7 separate regions of the Homo sapiens genome follow, and regions 1, 3, 4, 5, 6 and 7 are each linked to region 2. The links are contacts of gene promoters, found by promoter capture Hi-C in human tissues and cell types (Jung and others, 2019). All regions are on one chromosome and are shown on one strand. Each heading gives the region's core, a stretch centred on a gene start or on the middle of the fragment in contact. The rest is flanking DNA. Distances are from core to core; before and after follow the strand shown.

What was found. Contacts are between HindIII fragments. The study calls those that stand out against the background at their distance.
Region 1: a fragment that was not itself captured here is called in contact with the fragment with the promoter of ITPKA in region 2 in 1 of the 25 tissues and cell types used here (spleen).
Region 3: a contact is called between a fragment that was not itself captured here and the fragment with the promoter of ITPKA in region 2, in 4 of the 25 tissues and cell types used here (IMR-90 fibroblasts, bladder, dorsolateral prefrontal cortex and 1 more).
Region 4: a fragment that was not itself captured here is called in contact with the fragment with the promoter of ITPKA in region 2 in 1 of the 25 tissues and cell types used here (heart right ventricle).
Region 5: a fragment that was not itself captured here is called in contact with the fragment with the promoter of ITPKA in region 2 in 5 of the 25 tissues and cell types used here (dorsolateral prefrontal cortex, hippocampus, liver and 2 more).
Region 6: a fragment that was not itself captured here is called in contact with the fragment with the promoter of ITPKA in region 2 in 1 of the 25 tissues and cell types used here (aorta).
Region 7: a contact is called between a fragment that was not itself captured here and the fragment with the promoter of ITPKA in region 2, in 4 of the 25 tissues and cell types used here (adrenal gland, bladder, mesenchymal stem cells and 1 more).

What each region holds. Positions count from the first base shown.
Region 1 is chr15:41,237,074-41,240,795 of GRCh38, reverse strand. The region is part of intron 1 of CHP1 (calcineurin like EF-hand protein 1); the gene reads right to left. Among named protein-coding and RNA genes, the nearest start is that of CHP1, 7.7 kb to the right of the region's middle. The HindIII fragment of the contact is 5,914 bases long and covers 1-3,722 here.
Region 2 is chr15:41,492,391-41,496,539 of GRCh38, reverse strand. It overlaps ITPKA (inositol-trisphosphate 3-kinase A), which reads right to left and starts at 2,666. Exons shown (of 7, transcript NM_002220.3): 1 at 2,124-2,666. The coding sequence starts at 2,612. RefSeq lists silencers at 2,047-2,096, 2,207-2,386, 2,407-3,026 and enhancers at 2,763-3,263, 3,264-3,764. The HindIII fragment of the contact is 23,030 bases long and covers 1-4,149 here.
Region 3 is chr15:41,665,874-41,669,634 of GRCh38, reverse strand. It overlaps MGA (MAX dimerization protein MGA), which reads right to left. Exons shown (of 24, transcript NM_001400225.1): 2 at 1-807. The coding sequence starts at 740. Among named protein-coding and RNA genes, the nearest start is that of MGA, 7.3 kb to the right of the region's middle. The HindIII fragment of the contact is 4,748 bases long and covers 56-3,761 here.
Region 4 is chr15:41,737,687-41,741,599 of GRCh38, reverse strand. It overlaps MGA (MAX dimerization protein MGA), which reads right to left. Exons shown (of 24, transcript NM_001400225.1): 14 at 1,397-1,694. Among named protein-coding and RNA genes, the nearest start is that of MAPKBP1, 35 kb to the left of the region's middle. The HindIII fragment of the contact is 7,051 bases long and covers 1-3,913 here.
Region 5 is chr15:41,704,129-41,707,753 of GRCh38, reverse strand. MGA (MAX dimerization protein MGA) reads right to left here. Exons shown (of 24, transcript NM_001400225.1): 6 at 1-26. Among named protein-coding and RNA genes, the nearest start is that of MIR626, 14 kb to the right of the region's middle. The HindIII fragment of the contact is 8,003 bases long and covers 1-3,625 here.
Region 6 is chr15:41,310,213-41,313,842 of GRCh38, reverse strand. It overlaps OIP5 (Opa interacting protein 5), which reads left to right. Exons shown (of 5, transcript NM_007280.2): 4 at 489-570. OIP5-AS1 (OIP5 antisense RNA 1) reads right to left here. Exons shown (of 5, transcript NR_152821.1): 5 at 505-1,945. Among named protein-coding and RNA genes, the nearest start is that of OIP5, 21 kb to the left of the region's middle. The HindIII fragment of the contact is 4,895 bases long and covers 1-3,630 here.
Region 7 is chr15:41,683,853-41,687,954 of GRCh38, reverse strand. The region is part of intron 2 of MGA (MAX dimerization protein MGA); the gene reads right to left. Among named protein-coding and RNA genes, the nearest start is that of MIR626, 5.7 kb to the left of the region's middle. The HindIII fragment of the contact is 8,932 bases long and covers 1-4,102 here.

The DNA of each region.
Region 1 (3,722 bases), core at 859-3,358, 260 kb after region 2:
CATTTTCATTTCTTCATAGATCTTTTTTTTTTTTTTTTTTTTGAGATAGAGTTTCGCTCTTCTTGCCCAGGCTGGAGCGCAATGGCACAATCTTGGCTCACCACAACCTCCGCCTTCTGGGTTCCCGTGATTCTCCAGCCTCAGCCTCCCAAGTAGCTGGAATTATAGGCATGCGCCACCACACCCAGCTAATTTTGTATTTTTAGTAGAGACAGGGTTTCTCCATGTTGGTCAGGCTGGTCTTAAACTCCCAACCTCGGGTGATCCACTCACCTCGGCCTCCCAAAGTGCTGGGATTACAGGCATGAGCCACCGCGCCCAGCTCTTCATATATCATCTAATATCAGTTACTCGTGTACTTTACAAAGTTGTAATAGCTTGCTTTTCATTTAGTAATTCATACTTTTTCTATATTGCTTTGGAGTCCTTCTTTATCCAATTTATATAATTTTAAAATTGGTAGAAATGTTATCTAATCCGACCCCTTCAATGAACAAATGAGAGCCAGGCATGATGGCTGGCGCCTATAATCCCAGCACTTCCAGAGGCAGAAGCAGGACAATGATTTGAGGCCAGGAGTTCAAGACCAGGCTGGGGAACAAAATAAAAATAAAAATAAAAAATAAAATTATTTTAAACCAAAAAAATCCACAAATGAGCCATTAAACATCTTTCTAATCTATATCATCTAAAATAACTGGGCACTGAGGCTGGGCGTGGTGGCTCACACCTGTAATCCCAGCTGTAATCCCAGCACTTTGGGAGGCCGAGGCGGGCGGATCACGAGGTCAGGAGATTGAGACCATCCTGGCTAACACGGTGAAACCCTGTCTCTACTACAAATACAAAAAATTAGACGGGCGTGGTGGCAGGCACCTGTAGTCCCAGCTACTCGGGAGGCTGAGGCAGGAGAATGGTTTGAACCTGGGAGGCGGAGCTTGCAGTGAGCTGAGATTGCGCCACTGCACTCCAGCCTGGGTGACAGAGAGGAGACTCTGTCTCGAAAAAATAAATAAATAAAAAAGAAATAAAATAACTGGGCACTGAAACCTCCTATAGTATGTTAAGACCAGTTTATGGCTGCTTAAATTCAAAATGTGGCAAGGCCTGGTGGCTCAAGCCTGCAATACCAGCACTTTGGGGGGCTGAGGGCGGGCAGATCACCTGTGGCCAAGAGTTCAAGACCAGCCTGGCCAACATGGTAAAACCCTGTCTCTACTAAAAATACAAAAATTAGCCAGGTGTGGTGGTATAATCCCAGCTACTTGGGAGGCTGAGGCAGGAGAATCGCTTGATCCTGGGAGATGGAGGTTGCAGTGAGCTGAAATCTCACCACTGCACTCCAGCCTGGGCGACAGAGTGAGACTCCGCCTCAAAACAAAACAAAACAAAACAAACGATAACAAAAAATAATGTACTAATATGTTAAAAATAAATAATGTAAATAAGTAGCCAAAACATTAAAAAAAAAAAAACTATCTTCCAGGACGAACTGGGTTATATGGGAGTCAGTGGAGAAACATACAACCAAATGTCAACTTTTAATACTAATCAATATGGTCATATCTAAACTTATCTCCAAAATTTTAGAACAAATTTTAGAACCATAACGATATGGTTACAAGTAATTTTGTTAACAAAAAGAAGGAGAGAAGGCTTTAATTTAGGTACTAAATTCACTGTGACAAAGAATATAAAGCAATCTCAGAACAATCCCAATCTACCTATAAAGGAGCTACACCATCCATGTGTAGAAAGGTACTGGAACTGGTGTGAATGAAGGCAGATCATGTTTCCAGTGAAGTATTTTCCCCAGAAGGCTCTAAGCTAGTCAGATAGGTGCCCAAAACCTGCACAATTCTTGGTAACCCAAAGGAAATAACAGGAGTTGACAGTTACTCTCAGAGAAGGCCGTGCATATAAACGTGTCTTTTTTCTTTTTTTGAGATGGAGGCTTGCTTTGTCACCCAGGATGGAGTGCAGTGGCGCGATCTTGGCTCACTGCAAACTCTGCCTCCCAGGTTCAGGCCATTCTCCTGCCTCAGCCTCCTGAGTAGCTGCGACTACAGGTACCTGCCACCACCATGCCTGGCTAATTTTTTTTTTTTTTTGTATTTTTAGTAGAGACCAGGTTTCACCGTGTTAGCCAGGATGATCTCGATCTCCCGACCTCGTGATCCACCCGCCTCAGCCGCCCTAAAGTGCTGGGATTACAGGCATGAGCCACCGTGCCCTGCTATAAACATGTCTTGAATGAAGCTGTATTTTTTCTCCACTGGTATGGGTATATAATCATTTTAAATTGTTAAAAGATTATTTAAAAGACCCTGTTTGGCTGAGGGCAGTGGCTCATGCCTGTAATCCTAGCACTTTGGGAGGCTAAAGTGGGAGGATCCCTTGACGAAAGGCCAGTTCAAAACTAGCCTGGGCAACAAAGCAAGACTTCATCTCTATAATCAATCAATCAATCATTAGCTGGGCATCGTGGTGCATTCCTGTACGCTGAGCTATTTAGGAGGCAGAGGCAGAAGGACTGTTTCAGCCCAGGAGTTCAAGGTTGTAGTGAGCTATGATCACACCCCTCCACTCCAACCTGGGTGACAGAGTGAGACCCTGTCTCAAAAAAAAAACACACGCCAAAAAAACAAAAAAAGACCCTGTTAACGTTGCTGAAATCTTTCTATCATCACTGCATTGTGCAAAGAGGAGGAAGGCATTTCACAGAAGTGCGAAGCAGAAGTGGCAGAGGAAAGAATAAAAACAAAAAGGGAGTAAGAAAAAGTTATTTTGGAGGGCCAGGCATGGTGGCTCATGCCTGTAATCCTAGCACTTTTGGGAGGTGGGTGGATTACGAGGTCAAGAGATCAAGATCATCCTGGCCAACATGGGGAAACCCCATCTCTACTAAAAATACAAAAATTAGCCGGGCATGGTGGCACGTGCCTATAGTCCCAGCTACTCAGGAGGCTGAGGCGGGAGAATCCCTTGAACCCGGGAGGCGGGATTGCACCACTGCACTCCAGCCTGGTGACAGAACGAGACTCCATCTCAAAAAAAAAGAAAAGAAAAAGTTATTTTGTCCTTGCCTTTATTCCAAATCTTAATGCAGAAGAACAGACTGATAACCTATGTAAAGATTACAAGTACAGCTAAAGGTAGCTCTAGATAAAGGAAAGTTGAAGCCTGCGCTTCCCGGAATAGACTACACCTTAACATTCCCCCTGACATGAAGACTTCAAGCCCTGGACTAGTCTCTTAGGGATTAAGAGAGATTTTAAAACATTATATAAAACAAACAAAATCTATCTTCTTATAATTGGAGAAATTTGAATAGGAAGTGAATGATAGATAATATTAAGGTGGCTCACGTCTATAATCCTAGCCCTTTGGGAGGCTGAGGCAGGCAGATCATCTGAGGTTAGGAGTTCGAGACCAGCCTGGCCAACATGGTAAAACCTCGTATCTACTAAAAATAAAAACAATTAGCCAGGCGTGGTGGCACATGCCTGTAATCCCAGCTACTTGGGAGGCTGAGGCAGGAGAATCATTTGAAGCCAGGAGGCGGAGGTTGCAGTGAGCTGAGATCGCGCCACTGCACTCCAGCCTGGGCGACAAAAGTGAAACTCCATCTCAATTAAAAAAAAAAAAAGAAAAAGAAAAAAAGGGGCCAGGTGCGGTGGCTCACGCCTGTAATCCCAGCACTTTGGGAGGCTGAAGTGGGT
Region 2 (4,149 bases), core at 1,417-3,916:
TGCGGGTGGGCCTCCAACTTCTCCCCTGGCTGGTTAGGAAAAGCCTGCCTGTGACTTTTTCCTCTGCCGGAGTGAGGCTGCCCAGTTTCAATTTCCCTGCTCTGGGCAGGCTGGAGAGGGCTCCTAGGAGGTGAAGGGGACTACGTATGCCCCAGGCAGAGAGGTAGGCAGGCAGGCAGGCAGAAACTTCCTGGGCTCCGGCCTGCCTGGGCCGCGCGTAAGGGGCTGGTAAGCCGGGAGTCCTAGAGTCCGGCCCACGTGCATCCTTCACGGTCAGCCGGACCAGCCTTGCTTCCTGCCTGGGGAAGCCCTAAATTGGCCTGGGCCGGCGCGCTGTGCGGCTCTGGGACCTGCGGCGAGGCAAAGTCCGCCCTGGGCCCTTCCACACGGACTCAGGCAGCCTCTGTCAACAGCCCCTGGCTTATCTGCCGCCGCTGTGGCTGTTTGACTTCGGGGAGGCCCCGGCGGGCCTGGGGGTGGGGAAGGCCTGGAAGCCGCAGCCTTGGAGCTGGAAGGGCCCTCAGCGGCGATTTGCACCGGCTCCCGACGGCTCGGAGGGCGGCGGGGTCGCCCAGGTCCCCGAGGCTTGACCTTAGCCGGGGCGGTCTCTACACCCAGGCTTGGGCCGCAGGACCTCCTCCTAGCGCACTCCCTCTCCCAGGCACTTCGCCGAGTCCCTGCGGGCGGAAGAGGGAAGCGGGACGCGCCCGCGCTTCGCGCCCTTTCGCCTGCACCGGCTCTCAGGTGTCAGAGCTTCCGCGCCCCGGGAGCTGCTGCTCAGGCTTTTCCGAAGAGGCGGGGCGGGGGGCCTCTCACTGCCCCACACTCCACATCCTGGGAAGCCCCGGCATCCGCCCCCCGACCTAGGCAAGGGTTACCCCAGAAACGATCCTGGGTCCGGGGCTGCTCTGACCACCGGGGAAGAAGGGGAAGCGGCAGGCTAGTGACCGAGCCGGCGCACCCAGCACCTGGCGGCGGGGGGTGTTCCTGCTCTGTGAGGCTTTTCCCCTCTGGTGTCACTGACAAACCCCATCGGCCTCCGGGCTTGTGAACCCCTGCAGGTCGCCACAGCTTCCCTGCCTTGTCCCAGCCGATTGTGCGGCGGAGCAGGCGCGCGGCCACAGCTCTCCCCGCCCCGCCGCGCCGACCCGGACTTATGGGCAGGCCCCAGACGCCCGAGGCCGGGGGCGCCCCTCGCCTCTTCCTCGGCCTCAGGGACACTTGCGAAACGTGGATCTAAAGAAAGTCCTTCGCGCTGACCACGGACAGTTATTCAAGGTATTTGGCCTTGGTTAAAACGAGGGGAACAAGGAGGGTGTCCCGGGAGCCGCACATCCCTAAGTGGCGGGCGTCAGGAATGACTTAACAGTGCCCAGGGCTGTGTTTTCCGAGGGTCAGACCTGGTCCCAGAACACCCAGGCTATCAGAGGCAGAGACTAGCAGAGTGATCCTGCCCCCTTGCAGCCTCAGTTTACCGCCCCTCTCTGCCGCGCTCAGGAGCGGCGAGCCGGGAAGATGGGAGGCAGGGCGCGCACTGGGTGGGCTGCGTTCCGCTCCCAGCCAGAGCTCCCAGGCCCACGCCCCTCCCTCCCCTGCGTCCACGCCTCGTGCGGGCGCTGGGAGCAGACGGCAGCGGCTCCCGAGCAGAGCCTGGAGCGCCGCTCCACTCCCACTCAGGAGAGGGAAACCGTGGCAACGGCGGGGGTGCGGCCGCGGCACCGGAGAGGGGGCGGGGGGTAAGGGAAACTCTCCTTCGCCTCTCTCCTTCCGAGGGTTCACCCGGCAAGGCTCAGCCCCTCCGATCCCTCCTGTCCTAACCCACAGCCAACAAGGTCCGCTACCCCCGCTTCGCCCAGTCCCCGCGGCGGGTCGCCTGCTCCTCGCCCCGCTTCTTAGACGCCCCAGGGCCAGCGCCACGACCCGCCGGCGGAGCCGAGGTGAAAGTTGCCCAGGCGAGAGGTCGGCCAGGCGCCTCCCTCTGACCCCCAGATTCCTCCTAAACCGCGAGAACAGGACCTTCCGCTGGAGGGAGCATGGACAGGAGCGGGTCCTCCGGGAGCACCCAGCCAGGTCCCCCGTGCAGCCCCCGCGCCCGGCGCTGGCCCCGCCCCCGCGGCCCGTACCTGACCCACGTCCTCGCCCGCTTCCAGCTGCACGTTGCCGCGGCTCCGGCTCTCACTGTCGCTCAGCAGGTCGTCCTCCGAGTCCTCGAGCAGCGACGAGGAGCCAGTGGAGGAGACCGACGAGGTGGAAAGGCGGCGCGGCTGCTGCAGGTGCGAAGAGCCCGCTGCCGGGAGGCAGTCCCTCTCCCGCTCCGGCGGCCCAGGGCTGGTCGGGGGCACGTCGGGCTCCTCGGCTGTCACGGTCAGCTGAGGGATCACCGGGGCCGGGGGAGCCCGCGGAAGCCCGTTGGGGACCTGTCCCCCACGCCGCTTGGCCCCGCGGGCCCGGGGCTCCCCCGCGGCGGCGGCCGCAGCGACCGCCGCACAGCGCGCCTCGAAGAGCAGGCGCAGCTCCCCGACACTCCGGCGCGGGGCCCGCTCCAGCCCCGGGCTGCAGGGCCTCGCGCCCCCCGGCCGCGCCATGCCCGTTGGGCCCCCGGGCAGGGTCATTTCCCAGTGCCGGCGCCGCCGCTGAGCCCACCAGCCCGCGGCGCGCCGGGGACTGGAGCGGCTCGGCGCCCCCGGCTGGAGACGGCCCCGGGGCGGAGCCTGCGCCGCTGCACGCCCGCGCCCCGCCTCGGCCGCGCCCCCCGCCCACTCCTTCCACTTTCAGAGAAAGCGCGGGCCTCCCAGGGCCCCTGCGAGGGAGAGAAGGCTCTCGGTGACTCCTCGGGGTGGCGGGGAAGTCCAGCCTCCGTAGGCACAAAACCTGGGCCCGGGCCCCGAGGCTTCGCTCCGCCTGCCCTCGGGGAGGTGGGAGGGGCCGCTCCGCGCTGGGGCCTCGCAGCCTTCCCGGGCTTCGCGGCTGGGAGAGATTCCTCCAGGCCGCTCCACAGGCCCTGTCCCCGCGCAGGAGAAGCTGGTCCTACTCTTGGTCCCCTACCCCGTTCCTCGGGTTCCTTTGCGTGTTCATCCCTCCCGGGCAAGGGCTTCAAGTCTCGGGGCCTTTCTCCGGCCCGAGCTCCTGAGCAGAGTTGAAGGCCCCCGGCTTCCCGAAGAAGCCCCACCCCAGGGCGTGCACCCAAGTGGAGACTCTGCCCCAGGGACTAGCTGAGGCTGCTCCCCGCAAGTTCCCCACTTCCCGGCGGGCAGAGAACAAGGTCAGGGGGCGGGGCCTGGATCTGTCCCCATGGCCCAGCCTAGTCCCGGGCTGCATCTCCCCCGCTGCTGGGTGGCAGGAGCTGAGCCCGCCTTCCTCCTCCTCTGTTATAGGAGCTCGGGGCTTGGAGTCCGCCGTGTGGCGTTCAGCAAGTCATTTCACCTCCCTCGACTGCGGATTCTCCCGTTGCTGCGAGAATAAAATAAAAGACTTGAAATCAGGTACACCACACTCTAGATGTGATTTGTAGGCAGTCCCTTTACTCCCTCCGTATATTTCTGCATTTGTACATTTAGAAAAACCTCATCCAACCCACAGAGTTGTGTCTGTAAAACTAGGAAGACAGCACTGATGTTTAAGAGTTTCAGACACTGCAAAGTGCTTATCAGTGTCATTCCATGTGGATCTTCGGCCACTTCCCATGTTGGTAGTCAGCTGACCGACCGGCGAGGCTGCTTTGAGGAGAAGCCACTGTTTCCTATCTTACCATAGTGCCACAGGAGTGAGGGTCCCCCCTCAGGCACTCAGTGTCTGGGGATGGCTGGGGCCCTGGAGACAGAGCAGCCCCAGAAGGATTGCCTTGGATGCTGAGATGGCCGCAGGAGGGGCTTTCCTTCCCTTCTCTCCCCTCAGCCAGGGCTCAGGAATGGCCCAGGAGAAGGAAAGAAGAAGGTTCAGTGGGAAGACGGGAATCTTCGGCAAAGCATAGTGGCTCAGGCTTGTAACCCCAGCACTTTGGGAGGGCAAGGCGGGCAGATTGCTTGATCCCAGGAGTTCGAGACCAGCCTGGGCAACATGGCAAAACCCTGTCTCTACTAAAAATACAGAATATTAGGCAGGTGTGGTGGTGTGCACTTGTAGTCTCAGCTACTCGGGGAGAGGCTGAAG
Region 3 (3,761 bases), core at 1,180-3,679, 170 kb before region 2:
AGCTGAGTAATCTGAATGTTCTGATAAGCTGTTACTGCAAAGAATTCAGTCTGTGGGAAGGTAAAAGTGTGGACACCAGGGCCATTTAATTGTATCACCTCCACAGCCTTTTCTGCAGGCACCAAATGAAGCCTCGGCAGGTAACGATGCATAGAGTGCAAGATGATATGCCCTTCTTGGTCCAGTGTATTGTTGGTAAGTTTGAGTTTATAGAAAGATACTGGTTGATGCATCCAATAATGACCTGTGGAAGGAGATTCTGGATGAATGAAAACCCTCCCCAAAACATGAGGTTCAGCCTTCCCACTAGGTTCCCACCAACGACCATTCCACTTATAACGATGGTTATCCACAGGAGATATATCCATGACAAGAATATACTTCAAATTTGAATCTAAACCTGTTATCCAATAACGACAGTAAGGAAACATGCGTCTTCCTTGCTTGGTCAGAATCATCTCTGTGCTTCGATGATAGAACTCATTCCACATACTATTGTTATCGAGGGTAACAGTGATTCCACCCACAGTACAATCAGCTGGAAGGCAAATCTTCCCTTTAGATTTTACTGGTGATGACACACTACTAGCCAAAGCACAGGCATCCTGATTAGTAACCAAAATTCCTTGATCAGTTTTGCCATTTCCTGGCTGCTTTAAGATGACAAAGAAGGTAGGTGCTGCTCCTGCCACTGTTCCACCATCTTGATTAGCCAATATAATCTGCTGTTTCTCCTCCATGATTTCAGTAGGAAACTCAGTAGTAAGACAACTGTAATCACCACATAGTCACAATGGCCTTCCCATCCTAAGAAACAAGCAAAAAAAAACCAAAAACAAAAAACACCCTTTAATCAAGTGAGTATTTATTTCTTGAACAAAAATACAAGAACGATTATGTTATCCCCAAAATATTCCTAAATTCTTCTAAGACTTTGCTTCTAAGCTTTTCTTTCAATCACAGTAAGAATATTTACTCTGGAATATCTAATCATTTTTTAAAGTTCATTTTAATCTAATTAGTTAAGGTGCTTATATCCTAATCCTCTAACAATTCACTATAAATACTATAATCTCACACAAAGAAACAAAAGAGTATATTCATTATTAAAAAAGTATACAAAATTAAAAAGTTAAATTTGAAGGTTATGCATTTTTAAAGCATCCTAACACTTTATGAATTTACCAGAAGATTCCTTTATATAGCAAGTTCCCCAGTGATGAGTAAATTAAATAAGTAAAGTTCCATTTTCATCCCAAAGAGCTAATTGTACAGAATTAGTTCTTCATATGGTTCAGAAGACATGGTTCCATAAATAAGTAAAAAGCTATCTAACTTCTTAGTACACACGTTTAAAGAAGCCATGACAAATCACTGGAACTCAATGGACCTTACACTGAAATAAATTCCAGATGACTCTAATATTTAATTTTTTTATTCCTAAATCCTGAGAAAAGTTTTTTGATAAGACACAAAATCTAAAACCAGTAAGGCCAAAAAAAAAAAAAGTGATAAATTTAATACTATATGATGCCAGGTGTGGTGGCTCACACCTGCAATCCCAGCACTTTGAGAGGCTGAGGCCAGTGGATCATTTAAAGCCAGGAATTCGAGACTAGCCTGGCCAACATGGCGAAACCCCATCTCTATTAAAAATTAAAAAATTAGCCTGGTGTGGTGGTGCACGCCTGTAGTCCCAGCTACTCAGGAGGCTGAGGCATGAGAATCACTTGATCCTAGGAGGCAGAAGGTGCACTGAGCCAAGATCACGCCACTGCACTCCAGCCTGGGTGACAGGGAAAGACTCCGTCTCAAAGAAATAAAAATAAAATAAAATTTAATATTCTGTAAATTTTTTAATCTGGCAAAATCATTTAAGCAAAATCAAAAAGCAAACTAACCAGGAAAAGGTATTTGCAACTTATAAAGAACTCCTTTCCCTAATATAAAAAGGGGGCTGGACATGGTGACTCACACCTATAATCCCAGCACTTTGGGAGGCCAAGGCAGGAGGATTGCTTGAAGTCAGGAGTCCCAGACCAGCCTGTCCAACGTAGTGAAAGTCCGTCTCTATTAAAAAATAATAGCGGCGGGGGAGCAGTGGCTCACGCCTGTAATCCAAGCACTCTGGGAGGCCAAGGAGGTCAGATCACTTGAGGTCAGGAGCTCAAGACCAGCCTGGCCAACATGGTGAAACCCTGTCTCTACTAAAAATAAAAAAATTAGCTAGGCATGGTGGTGTGCGCCCATAATCCCAGGTACTCGGGAGGCTAAGACAAGAGAATTGCTTGAACCCAGGAGGTGGAGTTGCAGCGAGCCAAGATGGCACCACTGCACTTCAGCCTGGGTGACAGAGCGAGACTCTGACTCAAAAAAAAAAATAAAAATACATTAACAGTAATAATAATTTTTAAAGGCTTCCTACAAATCAACAAGACCAAATACCTAACAGAAAAATGAGTAAAGGATAATAAACGCAAATGGCTATGAATATGTACATAGTTAAGAGGAAAGCAAATTAAAGTCATCTTGAGATACTGTTTTTTTACTTATCAGACTGGCAAAAATCAAAGCCTGGTAGTGCTGGAAAGGGTTAGGTCAACCAGCATTCTCCCCTAAGCAGTTACTGGGAGTATAAAATAATAGAATCTCTAAGAGAGGGCAACTTGAAAATATCAAAAGTACAAATCCATATATCATCCTATGACAAAGAATTGTTCCCAGGACTTTAAGTTTTCTTAATTCACTGTTAAAACCCACTATAGGACTTTATTTTAAATACACACACCTGTGATAAATGATATCTATACAAGATTATCCCCTGCATTCCCACTTATAACAGCAAAAGACTAGACAGGAAGAGAGAAGTCCTTAAAATGGTAAAACAAATGATGACACATCCATAGAGTGGAATGTTAACAGTCACAAAAGAGAATGTATAAGCTTAATGAATGCATGCAAAAAGTATCTACAAGATATATTAAGCGTAAAATGTTCAGAAGAGTTGTAAATTATGCCACACATCTTTTAAAAGTTTTTTATTGTACCTCTTAAACTTCAGACAGGGAGAACACGTGCAGGTTTGTTTACATGAGTCTACTGCATAATATAAGGTTTGGGCTTCTAATGATCCCATCATCCAAGCAGTGAACATAGTACCTGATAGGTAGTTTTTCAACCCTTGTAAAAGATTTTTCCTTTTTAAAATCAAAGAAATAGACAGTATTTCGGTCTTTAAAATAAATAAAAAGCCAAAGAATGAAAAAGAACATGTACATATTTGCTTTACACAGACTATCTCTGGAAAGACAGAAAAGAAAACAGTAGTATTGGTCATATCCAAGGAAAACTTGATGACTTGGAAAAGATACCCTTTTACACTTTGTAAATTTTGTGTCTTGTGAACACACAACCTTTAAAAACTAAAACACAGGCCAGGTGGGCAGGTGCAGTGGCTCACACCGGTAATTCCATCACTTTAGGAGGCCCATGTGGGAGTAACGTTTGAGGTCAAGAGTTCAAGACCAGCCTGGTCAAAATAGCCAGTCAGTCTCTACCAAAAAAAAAAAAAAAATAGCAGGTATGGTGGCCAGGAGGCTGAGGCAGGAGGACACCTTCAGCAGCCCTGGAAGTTCAGGTTGCAGTGAGCCATAACCATATCACTGCACTCCAGCCTAGGAGACAGAGTGAGACCCCGTCTCTTTAAAAAAATAAAAAATAAAGTTAAAATTAGTTAATTATTAAAGGTTATAAAGAAAAAG
Region 4 (3,913 bases), core at 566-3,065, 250 kb before region 2:
GAAAATGAGAGGGTTTGTTTCCCCCAATTTCTAATGTAAAAACTTGTTTCTACCATTTCCTCCTGTCTGAGCACTCTCACCTCTTTACAGCTGTGCTATTATGAGATGCTTACGTATTACATATTCCTAAAATATATAAAGACATTTCTCCAAACAGATCAGGATAGGATTGCTTTTTTTACTCCCCTTAATCACAACTGAAGCTGCCTTAATAAAAGGTAAAATAGATTCTTTTTTTTTTTTTTTTTTTTTTGGAGATGGAGTCTCACTCTGTCACCAGGCTGGAGTGCAGTGGCACGATTTCGGATTACTGCAACCTCTGCCTCCCGGGTTCAAGTGATTCTCCTGCCTCAGCCTCCCCAGTAGCTGGGACTACAGGCGCATGCCACCACTCCCGGCTAATTTTTGTATTTTTAGTAGAGATGGGGTTTCACCATGTTGGCCAGGATGGTCTCTATCTCTTGACCTCGTGATCCACCCGCCTCGGCCTCCCAAAGTGCTGGAATTACAGGAGTGAGCCACCGCGCCCGGCCAAAATAGGTTTTAAGGCAAACAATAAATATCTTCTATCTTCACACAACTCTAACCATTCAGCCAGAGATTTCAACTGACACTCTTACCTAACATTCCTAACAGATTTGAAACAACAAAAAGAGGAATTCAATAAACCAACTATAGATACTCTCAATGCTAAAACACAAATGTTTCAAGAAGGTAATTTATTACAGACTTCAGCATTTAAATGTTAAGGAAAAGAGAGATTTTCATTCATAGAACAGAGATGAATGGAATAAATCAACACTTTCAAAATTGTATTTATAGGAGCTTTCCACTTTAAGCCTATACTACTTACACCACTAGCTTTTGCTAGCTCCTTGGTTTCATAAGTTTAAGAAGTATCAACAGAAGCATTTACATAGCACCAGCAAGAGTTCAACAAGAGGCCAGAAACACCAGTCCTCACAGGAAAATAGTAAACTATTTTTAATTTAGTAAAATATTTTAGTAAATAATTTAGTATAATAGTAAACTATTTTTAAATGTCTTCCCTTTTTAGAAACAAAATTAAAATCCTTAAGTCTTTTCTACATTAATAACAACCAGTCTGAAAACCTTAAAAATAACTATAAAACTTGCCTTCAAGTCAGTGTTATTAAAAAATAAAAAATATATATAAAACCAAGAAATTAACTATAAAACAACTCAATTCATCTAATATTGCAGGTTATCAGACGTTAACCCCAAACAATCAAAAAAGTCCAGGCAAGACAGACAACAAGAATAAGAATAATGCCAAAGTACATATTTCTCTAATTTTTACAACCTCCATACCTGTACCCACTGTCCCACCACCAAGTCATAGGCCTTTCCAAACCATACATACACCCCAACTTACCAATTGGCCGTTTTGCTGGGACAAACGCCTTCAGATTCTTCCCAGGGCGATTTGTTGCAGTGCCAGAGGAGGATGCCATTTTGGAATTGGATGTTGAAGGCAACAGGGTACGTGGTTTCCTGGATGCAGCCACCTTGGCATTGGATGCTACCTTGGAGATGACAGTACTGAGGGTTGAGAGGTCCAGGACTGAGGGTCGCAACCTGCCTGTGATATAAGCAGCTAGCCTATTGGCTGGATGCAATGCCCCCATCTGTCCCAATAGCAACTTAGCCTGCGGGTAACTCTTACCATTAACCTGAAACAAGTGGCAAAGAGAAATTCTGTAAAGATAAAATTCTCTTGCTAACTCCTCTCCCTTGACAGGGGCTTCATTTTTACAAGTTTTCATAAGTCTATTTTTCAGATTTAAAAGGGAAAAAGAAGTAGACTTTTTCCATTTAGAATAATCTGAGTAATCAGAAGGTAGAAAAATGCTGTCAACTGATATTCTGAACTAATCTCATCTCCTTCATATTGTAGTTTGAAAATAGAGAATCGGAAACTCATCATTTCTGCATCCTAGTTATGTGAAAGTTATCATCAAATCTAAACAACTAGAATTATCCAATTGTTTTCCTTGTAAATAAGGCATTCTGGTTAAGCTATTAACCTCATCAGCAAAAATGAGTGTCCCACAGAATCTCTCTGATAAGACCAGAGAGACATAATGAAGCTCTCACACAAGGGTCCTTTCAAGCATCCTTCATATTTGAAAAATATAAGTGAAATCTACTTTAAGTTATAAGACAATCATTGTTGCAATAACCTAAGCCACAATTACCTCACAGTTTTTCATTTTCAAAAAGCTTAGCTTTGAAAATACTATTTTCATCTCTTGGATAAAACATGGGTTCAAACTGAATGTTGGTACGAACTCATTCTTATTCTAGACATAATTAACTAAATAGTCAGAAGAAAGTGAACCAACAAATGAAGTAAAGATCCCCTCTGCTGCCTGAGTTTATCAGACTGCCCATCATGGGTACCAGCACAGTTGTTTTTTGTGGGGGTTGATTTCTTTTCTTTTTTTTTTAAAGAAAGAAAACAAAAACTTCCCAAGTCTCTACCCATGTTCTCTAGGTCATATTGCCAGGCAACTCTAGAGAAGATAACCTTTTCTATATTTCCTTTTCACCATTTCAAAATCGGGGGTTGGGGGAGATGGAGTGAGGTAGAATCTACTCTCTAACAGGGAACTGGTGAGGAGACCAGCTACAGCAAGCAACTCCATCTTCAGAGACACAAAACAAAATTACTCTTTGCTACTTTGGTTAAATTGTGATTATTCCCACAGAGATCAAGAATATCTCTGCCTTGAGTTTGGTACAAAGAATGTGATCATTCCCCCTGAAAGTAGACTTTACTGTAACTTTTCAGGCTATACAGAAATAGGTCAGATACCCCCTCCCGGATCCCTTGGGACTGCGCTGAAGCCTACTCTGCAGCTTCCCCAAAGTTTACAAAGTTTACAGTTGCCTGACTGCTTATGCAGACACATTCTATGGTGGCTTTGTGAGTCCTGGGCAGAAGACAACAAAAAATTTCCATGCTTGTATTTTAGGGAGTCTAGTCTCACTAGAAATTGTATCAGGCAAACCTCTGTTTTCAAAGTGTCAATCAATATATAAGGTAGAGAAAATACTGTTCTCCTCATCAAGAGTATAAGAAATATCAACAGAAGCATTTACATAGCATGCACAACAGTAAACTGCAATAATAAGTTTTTTAATTAAGTAGATCAATCATATTAATATTATTTTCTCTTTTGAGATGGAGTCTCACTCTGTCGCCCAGGCTGGAATGCAGTGGCGTGATCTCGGCTCACTGCAACCTCTGCCTCCCAGGTTCAGGCGATTCTCCTGCCTCAGCCTCCTAGCTGGGATTACAGGCACACGCCACCATGCCCGGCTAATTTTTGTATTTTTAGTAGAGATGGGGTTTCACCATGTTGGTCAGGCTGGTCTTGAACTCCTGACCTCATGATCTACCCGCCTTCACCTCCCAAAGTGCTGGTATTACAGGTGTGAGCCACCATGCCCAGCCTATATCAATCATATTATTAATGGAGAAGTCCTTAGTGACTTAGAAGCAGCCAATCTAATGAAAGTCAAGCTAACTTTGCAATAATATCAGACACTTCCACACATTTGCTACTCTAATATAAAAGTGCACTTTTTTTTTTTTGAGACAATCTCCCTCTGTTGCCCAAGCTGGAATACAGTGGCACAATCTCAGCTCACTGCAACCTCCACCTCCCAGGTTCAAATGATTCTCCTGCCTCAGCCTCTCAAGAAGCTGGGATTACAGGCGCGCGCCACCACGCCGGGCTAACTTTTTTATTTTTAGTAGAAATGGGGTTTTGCCATGTCGGCCAGGCTAGTCTCAAACTCCTTGCCTTAGGTGATCCACCACCTCGGCCTCCCAAAGTGCTGGGATTACAGGCGTAAGCCACTGCGCTCAGCTAGAAAAACCTTT
Region 5 (3,625 bases), core at 331-2,830, 210 kb before region 2:
ATCCACTGAATTCAATTTTAAGCCCACTAAAAGAAAAAAGGAAATCATATTTCCATAGATTAATCAGAAATCATATTATCTCCCTTCTTTGTTTTTAACTTGTGCCTGGGAGATGGCGGGGGGGTAAGGTCGAGAGAGAAAGGAGATAGTGAAGAGCAAAAACAATGAAAAAAACAAACTGTAGCAGATTCAATTTAAGGTGGCCCCATGATCCATGACATCTGGTATTACACATTTGTATAACTCCCCTCACCCCGACTATGGTAGGCAGGGCCTGTAATTTGTTTCTTATCAATAAAATGTGGTAAGGGAGATGGGACGTGCATGATAATGTGCATGTGATAACACAAGTTATCCATCTTGCTGGAGCTGCAATGAAATAAATTTTGCCAATGAGCTGAGGGAAACTGGAAGCAGATCCCTCTCCAACCAAGTCTCTGAGAAACCAGGCCTGGCCAATATTTTGACTGTAGCCTTGTGAGACCCTAAGCAGAGGACCCAACTAAGCTATGCCCAGACTGCTGACACATAGAAACTGTGATACAGTAAATATATCGTTTTAAGTTGCTAAGTTTGTGATAATTTATTAAGCAAGGTAACTAATTAAAAAAGAGCAAAATTCAGATCTCTTGTGCTTTAACTCTTTGTGGTCCAGAGACTGTCTAAGGCCTCTATTACAAACTCACCATAGACTAAGCTGCTGGCCTGATTATGGCTACTGGTTCTCTAGTCCTTATTAATGACATTTATGGTTAATCAAGCCTAAAAATATTATGACTTCCTTATTTATAGGTTAAGAGGCAATATTTTGGGAAGGTATTTAACTTAAATTTTAATAAAACTGAAGCCAAAAGAAGTTCAAAGTGAAGCGTTAATTATTGGCCGGAGCTGGTGGCTCACACTTGCAATCCCAGCACTTTGAGAGGCCAAGGCAGACAGATCACTTGAGGTCAGGAGTTCGAGACCAGCCTGGCCAACATGGTGAAACCTCATCTCTACTACAAGTACAAAATTAGCCAGGTGTGGTGGCATGTGCCTGTAGCTACTCAGGAGGCTGAGGCAGGAGAATCACTTGAACCTGGGAGACAGAGATTGCAAGGAGCCGAGATGATGCCACTGCGCTCCAGCCTGGGAGACAGAGTAAGACTCTATCTCAAAAAAAAAAAAAGGGAAAAAAAAAAAGCTAAGTGTTAAGTATCATAGTAAAGCCATTAAAAGTCACAGGCGTAAGTTTCCAGTAAAAAGCTCACGTAGTGCTGGTTCTCTAACAGGTAAAGACATTAGGTAGGTTATGAACCCCATGTATCCTATACATAAAATCTATCTGAACAAAAGATGGCAAGCCAGGCACTGTGGCGTGCACCTGTAGGCCCAACTACTTGGAAAGCTGAGGTGGGAAGACCACATCTCTTAAAAAAAAAAAAAAAGACAGCTATTTTGTTTTAGTTTGCAATTCCAGTTCTTTAACATATCTTTATTGTATTACATATTTATTTATTCATTTTTTTTTTTTTTTTGAGATGGAGTCTCACTCTGTTGCCCAGACTAGAGTGCAATGGTGTAATCTCGGCTCACTGCAACCTCCGCCTTCCTGGTTCAAACGATTCTCCTGCCTCAGCCTCCCAAGTAGCTGGGATTACAGGCGTGTGCCACCAGGCCCGGCTAATTTTTGTATTTTTAGTAGAGACGGGGTTTCACCATATTGGTCAGGCTGCTCTCGAAATCCTGACCTCGTAATCCGCCCGCCTCGGCCTCCCAAAGTGCTGGGATTACAGGCCTGAGCCACCGCACCTGGCCTGTATTACATATTTATTGTATTTAATCACACAGTATGATTAAAACATCAATCAAATAAAACAGCCTTTCCTCATGTTCCCAATCAACTACGGGAAATATAGGATAATGAGTCAAAACAATGATTTCTAATCTTGCCTTTACTACTTTTTAATTGTATGACTTGGGCTAAACTTCTCTTTAGTTTTCTCAACAGTAAAATGAACACCAATCCACCACATTCAGTTGTATGCTTTGAGAATCTACTGCACTTTCTCTGTAAAGCAGGTGATCTCAGAGAGATAAAAGACATTTTGCAGGCCTGGCATTTCAGCTCACACCTGTAATCCCTGCACTTTGGGAGGCCAAAGAGGAAGGACTGGTTGAGCCCGAAAGTTCAAGATGAGTCTGGGCAACAGGTTAAGACCCCATTTCTACAAAAAATTTAAAAATTAGCTGGGTGTAATGGCACGTGCCTGTGATCCCAGCTACTCAGAAGACTGAGGTGGGAGGACTGCTTGAGCCCAGGAGGTTGAGGGTACTGCAAGCCATGATCGTGCCACTGCATTCCATCCAGCCTAGGCAAAAAAGCAAAATCCTGTCTTGAAAAAAAAAAAGACCTCAAGAAGCTTTAGTGTTATGTTTTCCCAACTGACTTTCAGTAGGTAGCATAGGGTAAATAAGTCCCTACGAGAGGTAAACAAAAAGAAATCTGAGGCCGGACATGGTGGCTCACAGCTGTAATCCCAGCACTTTGGGAGGTTGAGGTGGGCAGATCACCTGAGGTCATGCAAGAAAATCCTTCCCCAAGTAACAGACAACTGAGACCTAGACTCAGCTGATTTCATATGAAATGGGCATAAAAACTTTAGCTTGCAGAAAATAATTTGGCTGAATAATTCATAGAAAGCATATTGTGAAAAACCTATTATCTTTTTATATTTTTATTCAACCAGAGCCTACTTAGAACCTAAAATCTTGTCTACATGTCAGTTTAAACTATATTTCTAAATCGTTTTGCTTCATTTCACCATATTAGAAGCTACTTCTTAAAAATGTGTTATAATGTCATTACAAAAAAAGACTCATAAAGATAAAGCTGAAAAGAGATAACCTTTAGATTCAAGCAAAGACAGATTCACCTACAATAAGATATAGCCAAAAATGCCAACTGCTAGCTAAAACCACTGAAATACAAAAGTACACTCAAGATGTTTATAGTTCTATAAACACCTATATAAGTAGTAAACACAGAATAGAAAAGCACATATTATAAGGAAAACTCCAGCTAATCACCAATTTTTTTTGTTTTGTTTTGTTTTTGAGACGGAGTCTTGCTCTGTCACCCAGGCTGGAGTGCAGTGGCACGATCTCCACTCACTGCAAGCTCCGCCTCCCAGGTTCAAGCCATTCTCCTGCTTCAGCCTCCCCAGCAGCTGGGACTACAGGTGCCCACCACCACTCTTGGCTAATTTTTTGTATTTTTAGTAGAGACAGGGTTTCACCGTGTTACCAGGATGGTCTCGATCTCCTGACCTTGTGATCCACCCGCCTTGGCCTCCCAAAGTGCTGGGATTACAGGCGTGAGCCACCGCGCCTGGCCGCTAATCACTAATTTAATGTAACATTCAGAATTTTTTTTTTTTTACTGCAGGGCACCATGGCTCACACTTGTAATTCCAGCTACTTGGGAGGATGGGCTGAAGCCAGGAGTTTGAGACAAGCCTAGGCAAAACTGGGAGACCCCATCTCTAAAAAAAAATATTTTAAGGAAAAATAAAGCATTTTTATTAAATTACTAAAAAAGGAAGAGGAAGACAGTTCTTGAAATATTGTCATTACTCATAAAGGA
Region 6 (3,630 bases), core at 186-2,685, 180 kb after region 2:
GACCTCACCAGATACCAAAATCCATGGACACTCAAGTTTCTGATATTAAGTGGTGTAATATTTGCATATTACTTTTGGATATCCTCCTTTTTAAAGTATAAAAGTATATATTTTATACTTTAAAATAATCTCCAGATTACTTATGACAGCTAACGTAATGTAAATGCTATGTACATTACAAATTTACATAGGAAATTTACAAAGTTGTTGTAATGTTAAGGGAATGATGACAAGAAAAAGAGTGTACCTGTTCAGTACAGACACAATCCAGTTTTTTTTTCCTGAATATTTTTAGTCTGTGGTTGTTTGAATCCATGGATGCTATACCCATGGATATGGTGGGCCAACTGTAACATCATGAGTCTTGAAATGAAAATCATTAAGAAGCCAGGCTTTTTTTGACACATACTTTCTTTAGAAGGTAAGTTTGGTTCTTTTATAATCTTAACCATGGTATGACACTAATATTTTTCTTTTTTCCTATCTAGCTATCTCTTAAAAACAAAAGCCATAGTAAATGCATCAGAGATGGATATTCAAAATGTTCCTCTATCAGAAAAGATTGCAGAGGTAAAATTTCATGATGGTTGTATGCTTTTTTAAAATACAGACAACTCTTGATAACTTCTACCAATGAACTTGGGGATGATGAAATGGCATGATGCTCAATAATCCTTTTTACTTGATTTGACCTTCCCTATTGAATTTGTAATGAAAAACAAAATACTAAAACCACACTGTAAGGTATAGTTCAGGAAGAAAGGAAAAGCTGCTCAACTGCTGCACTCCTGCATTCTCCTTTGTGCTGGGAATGGATATCATCATCTTGCCATAGAGGTGTCTTCTTTGCAAATACCTTGTAATTGCTCAACTGTCTCAGACATAAGAGTGATGAAACAGTTATTAAGAATTCCTGGCCGGGCGTGGTGGCTCACGCCTGTAATCCCAGCACTTTGGTAGGCCAAGGCGAGCAGAACATGAGGTCAGGAGATGGAGACCATCCTGGCTAACACAGTGAAACCCCATCTCTATTACAAATACAAAAAATTAGCCGGGCGTGGTGGCACGTGCCTGTAGTCCCAGCTACTCGGGAGGCAGAGGCAGGAGAATTGCTTGAACTGGGAGGTGGAGGTTGCAGTGAGCTGAGATTGCGCCACTGCATTCCAGCCTGGGCAACAGAGCAAGACTCTGTCTCAAAAAAAAAAAAAAAAAAAATTTAGCCGGTCATGGTGGTGGGCGCCTGTAATCCCAGCTACTTAGGAGACTGAGGCAGGAGAATCGCTTGAACCCAGGTGGTGGAGGTTGCAGTGAGCCGAGACTGCGCCACTGCACTCCAGCCTGGGCAACAGAGCGAGACTGCGTCTCAAAAAAAAATAATTCTTGCCTGGGCGTGGTGGCTCACGCCTGTAATCCCAGCACTTTGGGAGGCTGAGGCGGATGGATAACCCGAGATCAGTAGTTCGAGACCAGCCTGACCAACATGGAGAAACCCTGTCTCTACTAAAAATACAAAATTAGCCGGGCGTGGTGGCACATGCCTGTAATCCCAGCTACTTGGGAGGTTGAGACAGGAGAAGCACTTGAACCTGCGAGATAGAGGTTGTTGTGAGGCAAGATCATGCCATTGCACTCTAGCCTGAGCAACAAGAGTGAAAATCTGTCTCAAAAAAAAAAAAAAGAAAAAAAGAAGGCTGGGCATGGTGGCTTATGCCTGTAATCCCAGCACTTTGGGAGGCTGAGGCAGGCAGATCACCTCAGGTCGGGAGTTTGAGACCAGCCTGACCAACATGGAGAAATCCCATCTCTACTAAAAATACAAAATTAGCCGGGCGTGTTGGCGCATGCCTATAATCCCAGCTTTTCGGGAGGCTGAGGCAGGAGAATCGCTTGAACCTGGGAGGCAGAGGTTGCAGTGAGCCGAGAGCTTGCCATTGAGAGCGAAACTCTGTGTGGAAAAAAAAAAAAAGAATTCTTATTGGCTGGGTGCGGTGGCTCACACCTGTAATCCCAGCACTTTGAGAAGCCGAGGTGGGTGGATCATGAGGTCAGGAGTTCAGCCTGGCCAAGATGGTGAAACCCCGTCTCTACTAAAACTAGAAAAATTAGCCAGGCGCAGTGGCAGGCGCCTATAATCCCAGCCCCAGCTACTCAGGAGGCTGAAGCAGGAGAATCGCTTGGACCTGGATGGCAGAGGTTGCAGTGAGCCAAGATCACGCCATTGCATTCTAGCCTGGGTGACAGTGAGAATCTATTTCAAAAATAATAATAATAATAATTGGTATGGGAAATGACTTTGGAATGGCAGTATGAGGAGTTCCATGGATAGGATCCAGGAAGAATATTATAAAGGAAACAACCATCTTAAGTCTGTGGAAATTTTCTTCAAGGTATATGGCAAATACAGAAACATTTATTTGTTTATTTATTTTTGAGACAAAGTCTCACTCTGCCTCCCAGGCTGGAATGCAGTGGCACAGTCTTGGGTCACTGCAACCCCCTCCTCCCGGGTTCAAGCGATTCTCCCACATGGAGAATCCTTGTCTCTACTAAAAATACTAAAAAGCCTCCTGAGTACCTGGGACTACAGGCGCGCACTACCGTGCCCAGATAATTTTTGTATTTTTAGTAGAGACGGGGTTTTACCATCTCTGCTAAAAATGATGGCCAGGCTGTTCTCGAACTTCCGAGCTCAGGTGACCCACCCGCCTCGGCCTACCAAACTGCTGGGATTACAGGTGTGAGTGCCAGGTTCAAGTGCTTCTGCTTCAGCCTCCCCAGTAGCTGGGAACCCAGTTGCCCTTGCCCCCAGCTTGCTTGTAGGGTGGAAATCCTATGCTGGGAGGGGCGAATGGAGATTATCAGAAGCCACTGCTCTTGCCCTGCTGAGTAACAACACTAAATTTCATGCTAAATATAGCTGTAAGAACTCTTAAAAATTACCTAATTGCAACAGTTATCTGTTCTAAACCTAATAACCAGAGTTAACTTTGCAGACCATTAGTAGAATGTTAAAGTCAGAGAGGCATTTGTTACTGTTAACAAAGTGTTAAAAGAAAAGCTAAATTCTTGCCACTGGAAAAGGAGGAGAAGCCTGTCTCCACAAAGCACTGTGACCAGACTTTATTCATCTTCACAGTAGCAGTGCTGCTCAGCAATGTTTTGTCTTTTTTCACACGAAACTTTACATCTGAGGATCTTTTTTTTTTTTTTTTTTGAGACGGAGTCTCGCTCTGTCACCCAGGCTGGAATGCAGTGGCACGATCTTGGCTCACTGCAAGCTCTGCCTCCTGGGTTCACTCATTCTCTTGCCTCAGCCTCCTGAGTAGCTGGGACTACAGGCGCCCGCCACCGTGCCCAGCTAATTTTGTTTTTGTATTTTTAGTAGAGATGGGGTTTCACCGTGTTAGCCAGGATGGTCTTGATCTCCTGACCTCGTGATCTGCCCAACTTAGCCTCCCAAAGTGCTGGGGTTAGAGGCGTGAGCCACTGCGCCTGGCCACATCTGAAGATCTTACTGTGCGCTACGTTGTTGTATAAAGTTCTTCCAGAATTAGAAGAAATTTATTCCTCAAATGCATTTAGACATTGCCAGCTCCCAATTACTAGATATAAACTAGCTTAAATTTGAAA
Region 7 (4,102 bases), core at 1,452-3,951, 190 kb before region 2:
TAGTACCAAAAAGAGAAACAGACAAATCCACAAATACGGTGGGAGATTTTAACCCATCTTTCTCAGTAACTGACATTAAAAAAATCAGGACAGAAGAACTGAATAACACTATCAATCAAACTTACTTGATAAGCCTTTATAGAATATTATATCCAACAACTGTACAATACACACATCCTTTTCAAGTATACATGAAGTATCAATCAGAAACAGATGACACCCTAGACAATAAAGCAAACCCTTGATAATTTCCAAAGGTTTTAAGCCATATGTTCTTTGACAACAACGGAATCAAACTACAAATCAGTAACAAACTTATCAACATACCAAATGTGTAGAATGTACCTAAAGTAGTGCTCAAGAGTCAAACGAATAGTTTAAAATACATACAAATGAAAAAGTCTAAAATCAATTATCTAAGACAGGAGTTGATCATTTTTTTCTGTAAAGGGCTAAACAGTAAAAATTTTAGGCTTTGCATTCCATACAGTCTCTACTGCAACTACTCAAGCTACAGACAATACATAAACAAAATAAAATAAATACAAATACAAAATACAAATACAAAAGACAAGCATGACTGTCTTCCAAAAAACAGGACACTGAAATTTGAACTTTAATTTTCACATCACAAATAACTATTTTTTTTCCCCAATCACTGAAAACTGTTAAAAATCATTCTTAGCTTACAAGCCAAGTAAAAACCAACGGTAGGCACATATGATCCATGGGTCTTAGTCCACCAAACCCTAATCTAAGGCAAATTAAACCAAAAACAAGTAGAACAAAGGAGTTAATGATGAGAGAAAAATCAATGAAATAGAAAAAAACAAAGAACTTGAAGTCATGATTTGAATTCTGCCAACAAGAAAACTCTGTGGCTTCACTGATAAATTCTATCAAATACATAATGAAAAAAAAAACAGCAATCTTGCACAAACTCAGCACATACAGAAAACAGAACACTTTGCAACGTGTTTTATGAGGTAACCATAACCCTACTGCTAACACATCAGAAATAAAACTATAAACAAATATCCCACATGAATTTGGTGCAAAAATCCTCAATAAAATATTAGCAAATTGAAACCAGTAATATTAAAAAGGATGATATCATCATGGCCAGGTAATGTTTAGCCCAAGAATGTAAGATCACCCCTCCCCTCTAAATCAATGTTAATTCACCATATTAACAAAATAAAGGAGAAAAAACATATGGTATTTCAATGGATTTAGAAAAATCATTTGATGAAATTCAACACTCATTCTTAACAATATTCAGGAAAATGGGTAACAGTAGGAAAGTATTTCAACATGATAAAGAGCACTACACAAAAACTACACCCAACATGCTATAAAAAATACAGAATGAGTTTCTCTAAGATCAGGAGACATGAATGACCACTCAAAAAAAAAATTTTTTTTTTAAGACAGCATCTCACTCTGTTGCCCATGCAGTGGTACAACCATGGCTCACTGCAACCTCAACCTCCCAGGCTCAACTCAAGCAATCCTCCCACCTCAGCCTCTCAAGTAGCTGGGCCTACAGGTGTGTGCCACCATGCCCAGCTAATTATTTTTTTAAGTTTTTATAGAGATGGGGGTGAGCTGGGTGGGTGTCACTATGTTTCCAGGGCTGCTTTCAAGCTCCTGGGCTCAAGTGATCCTCCTACCTCGGCCTCCCAAAGTGCTGGAATTAAAGGCGTGAGCCACCACACCCTGCCTCAAAATTTATTTTCAACACAGTACTGGGAGTCCAAGCAATGCAATAAAGCAAGAGAGAGAACAGGCATAAAGATTGGAAAGAAGATGTAAAACTAAATTTGTTCACAGGTAACACTGTACATGTAGAAAATTTCTAAAGGACTCTATAAATTAGTAAAACTCAGCTGGATTTCTATATACTATCAAAAAATTGGGAAATTATTATTATTATTTTTTTTTTTTTTTGAGACAGAGTCTCACTCTGTCACCCAGGCTGGAGTGCAGTGGCACGATCTCGGCTCCCTGCAAGCTCCGCCTCCCGGGTACACGCCATTCTCCTGCCTCAGCCTCCTGAGTAGCTGGGACTACAGGTGCCCGCAACCACACCCAGCTAATTTCTTTTTGTATTTTTAGTAGAGACGGGGTTTCACCGTGTTAGCCAGGATGGTCTCCATCTCCTGACCTCATGATCCTCCTGATCCTCCCGCCTCGGCCTCCCAAAGTGCTGGAATTACAAGCATGAGCCACCACGTCCAGCCAAAACTGGAAAATTATTTTAAATGCCAATTACAAGGATCATTTTTTAAAGCACCTAGGAATAAGTTTAATTAAAGACTGAAAAGAATGAATTATGGTTGAGATAAACTAAACAAGATCTAAATAAACAGAGATATATACCTTGTTTAACAGAATATTCAATGATGTCAAGATATCAAGTCTTTTCAACTGGATCTATTATTCAAGGCAATTCCAGCGGGTTTTTTCACAGAAACTGAAAAGCTGACTCAAAATTTATGTGGAAATACAAAGAACCCAGGACAACCAAAATAATGGGGGGTTCAAAGGCTTACCTTACCAGATTCTAAGACTTATTATAAATCTACTACCATTAAGACAGCACGGTATTGCCCAAAATAATAGAAAACATAGACAAATAAATCAATGAAACAGAATTTAGTATAAAATAAACCTACCTGTGCGCATATAGTCAGCTGATTTTCCTAAGCAACAATGCAACTTAATGGAGAAAATTATTTTCAATAAGTGATGCTAGAGCACCTAGCCATCTGCATGGAAAAATACGAACCCTGACCCTTCACAGCATGTACAAAAATTATTAATAATTCAAGACAGATCACAGAATTAAATGTGAAAACCAAAACAACTTCCCCCTTTCAAACATTTCACTTAACTGGTGAAAACAGCTCTCTCTTTATCAATTTTTTTAAAACTTTACTGTATAAGTTACATAATATAAAAGCCACCCACATTTTAAGTGTTAACTCAATAATTTTTAATAAATGTATAGTTATTAGCCATTACCAAAATCCAGTTTCCCTTTATCTGTTTTTAAAGATTAAGCAAGCAAAAACTACAGAAAAGCCACAAGCCAATCAATTTCCATAATCAAGCCCACTCTTTTCCCTTTCCCAGTTATCTCAGTTCTTATGTATATCACATATAAATGACATTCTATATCAAGTAATTTAAGATTAATGCTTAAATAACTTGCTATTTTTCTCTCGATATCTTCACATTTCAAGACATAACTCTCATAATGTAGAAAAAAATTTTTTATCTTCTTTTCATTTAGCACACAACATGCATTTGTTCGCAGTAGCTGGGAAACCTCTGAGGCTAGATCTGGGCTGCTACTGCAATAACTGCTTTCACATCTTCCTGAGAAATTGAACTTGGTAAGTTATAAACACTCTCAGAAAGGATTTCTTCTATTTTCCAACAAAAACTTTATACATGATGAATGAAATCTTGCCTTGGGGAAAAAATTTCACAAACAGTTAAGTTTCATTCTTCTGAGAAGTCTCTTCTATCCAAATAAATTAGGCAAAAGAATACCTAGGCAAAATCAATGAATTACAAACAACAGTTAATTAAAAGGATTTTTTTTGTTGGCATTATGTAATCAATGCAACAAATAACACTACATATTAATGTGTGACGAACACCAGCCACTCTAAGACACATTAAGAAAGTTTTAAATACTCATGATAAAACTCATTCACTTAACATTTGCTGAGTGCCCAGTAATGCCAGACATTTTGTTAGGCACAGAGATTAACAAAGTAAATAAAGCACTGTCTCTACATTCAAGGAATTTACAGGCCAGTGCAGGAGACAGACAAGTAGACAATATGATGCAATTTAACAGATGCTATAATAAACATACATATAGGCAATAAGGGTGCACACAGGAAGAACCCATATTATAACGCCTTCCGTAAAACTGGTGCTTAGCATGCCGTATGTAACTAACCTGCACATCCTGCACATGTATCCAGGAACTTAAAATAAAATAAAAATAATTTTTTTTAAAAAAAGGAAAGGGAAAAAAAACAAAACTGGTGCTTAGGCCATGCACGGTGGGTCACGCCTGTAA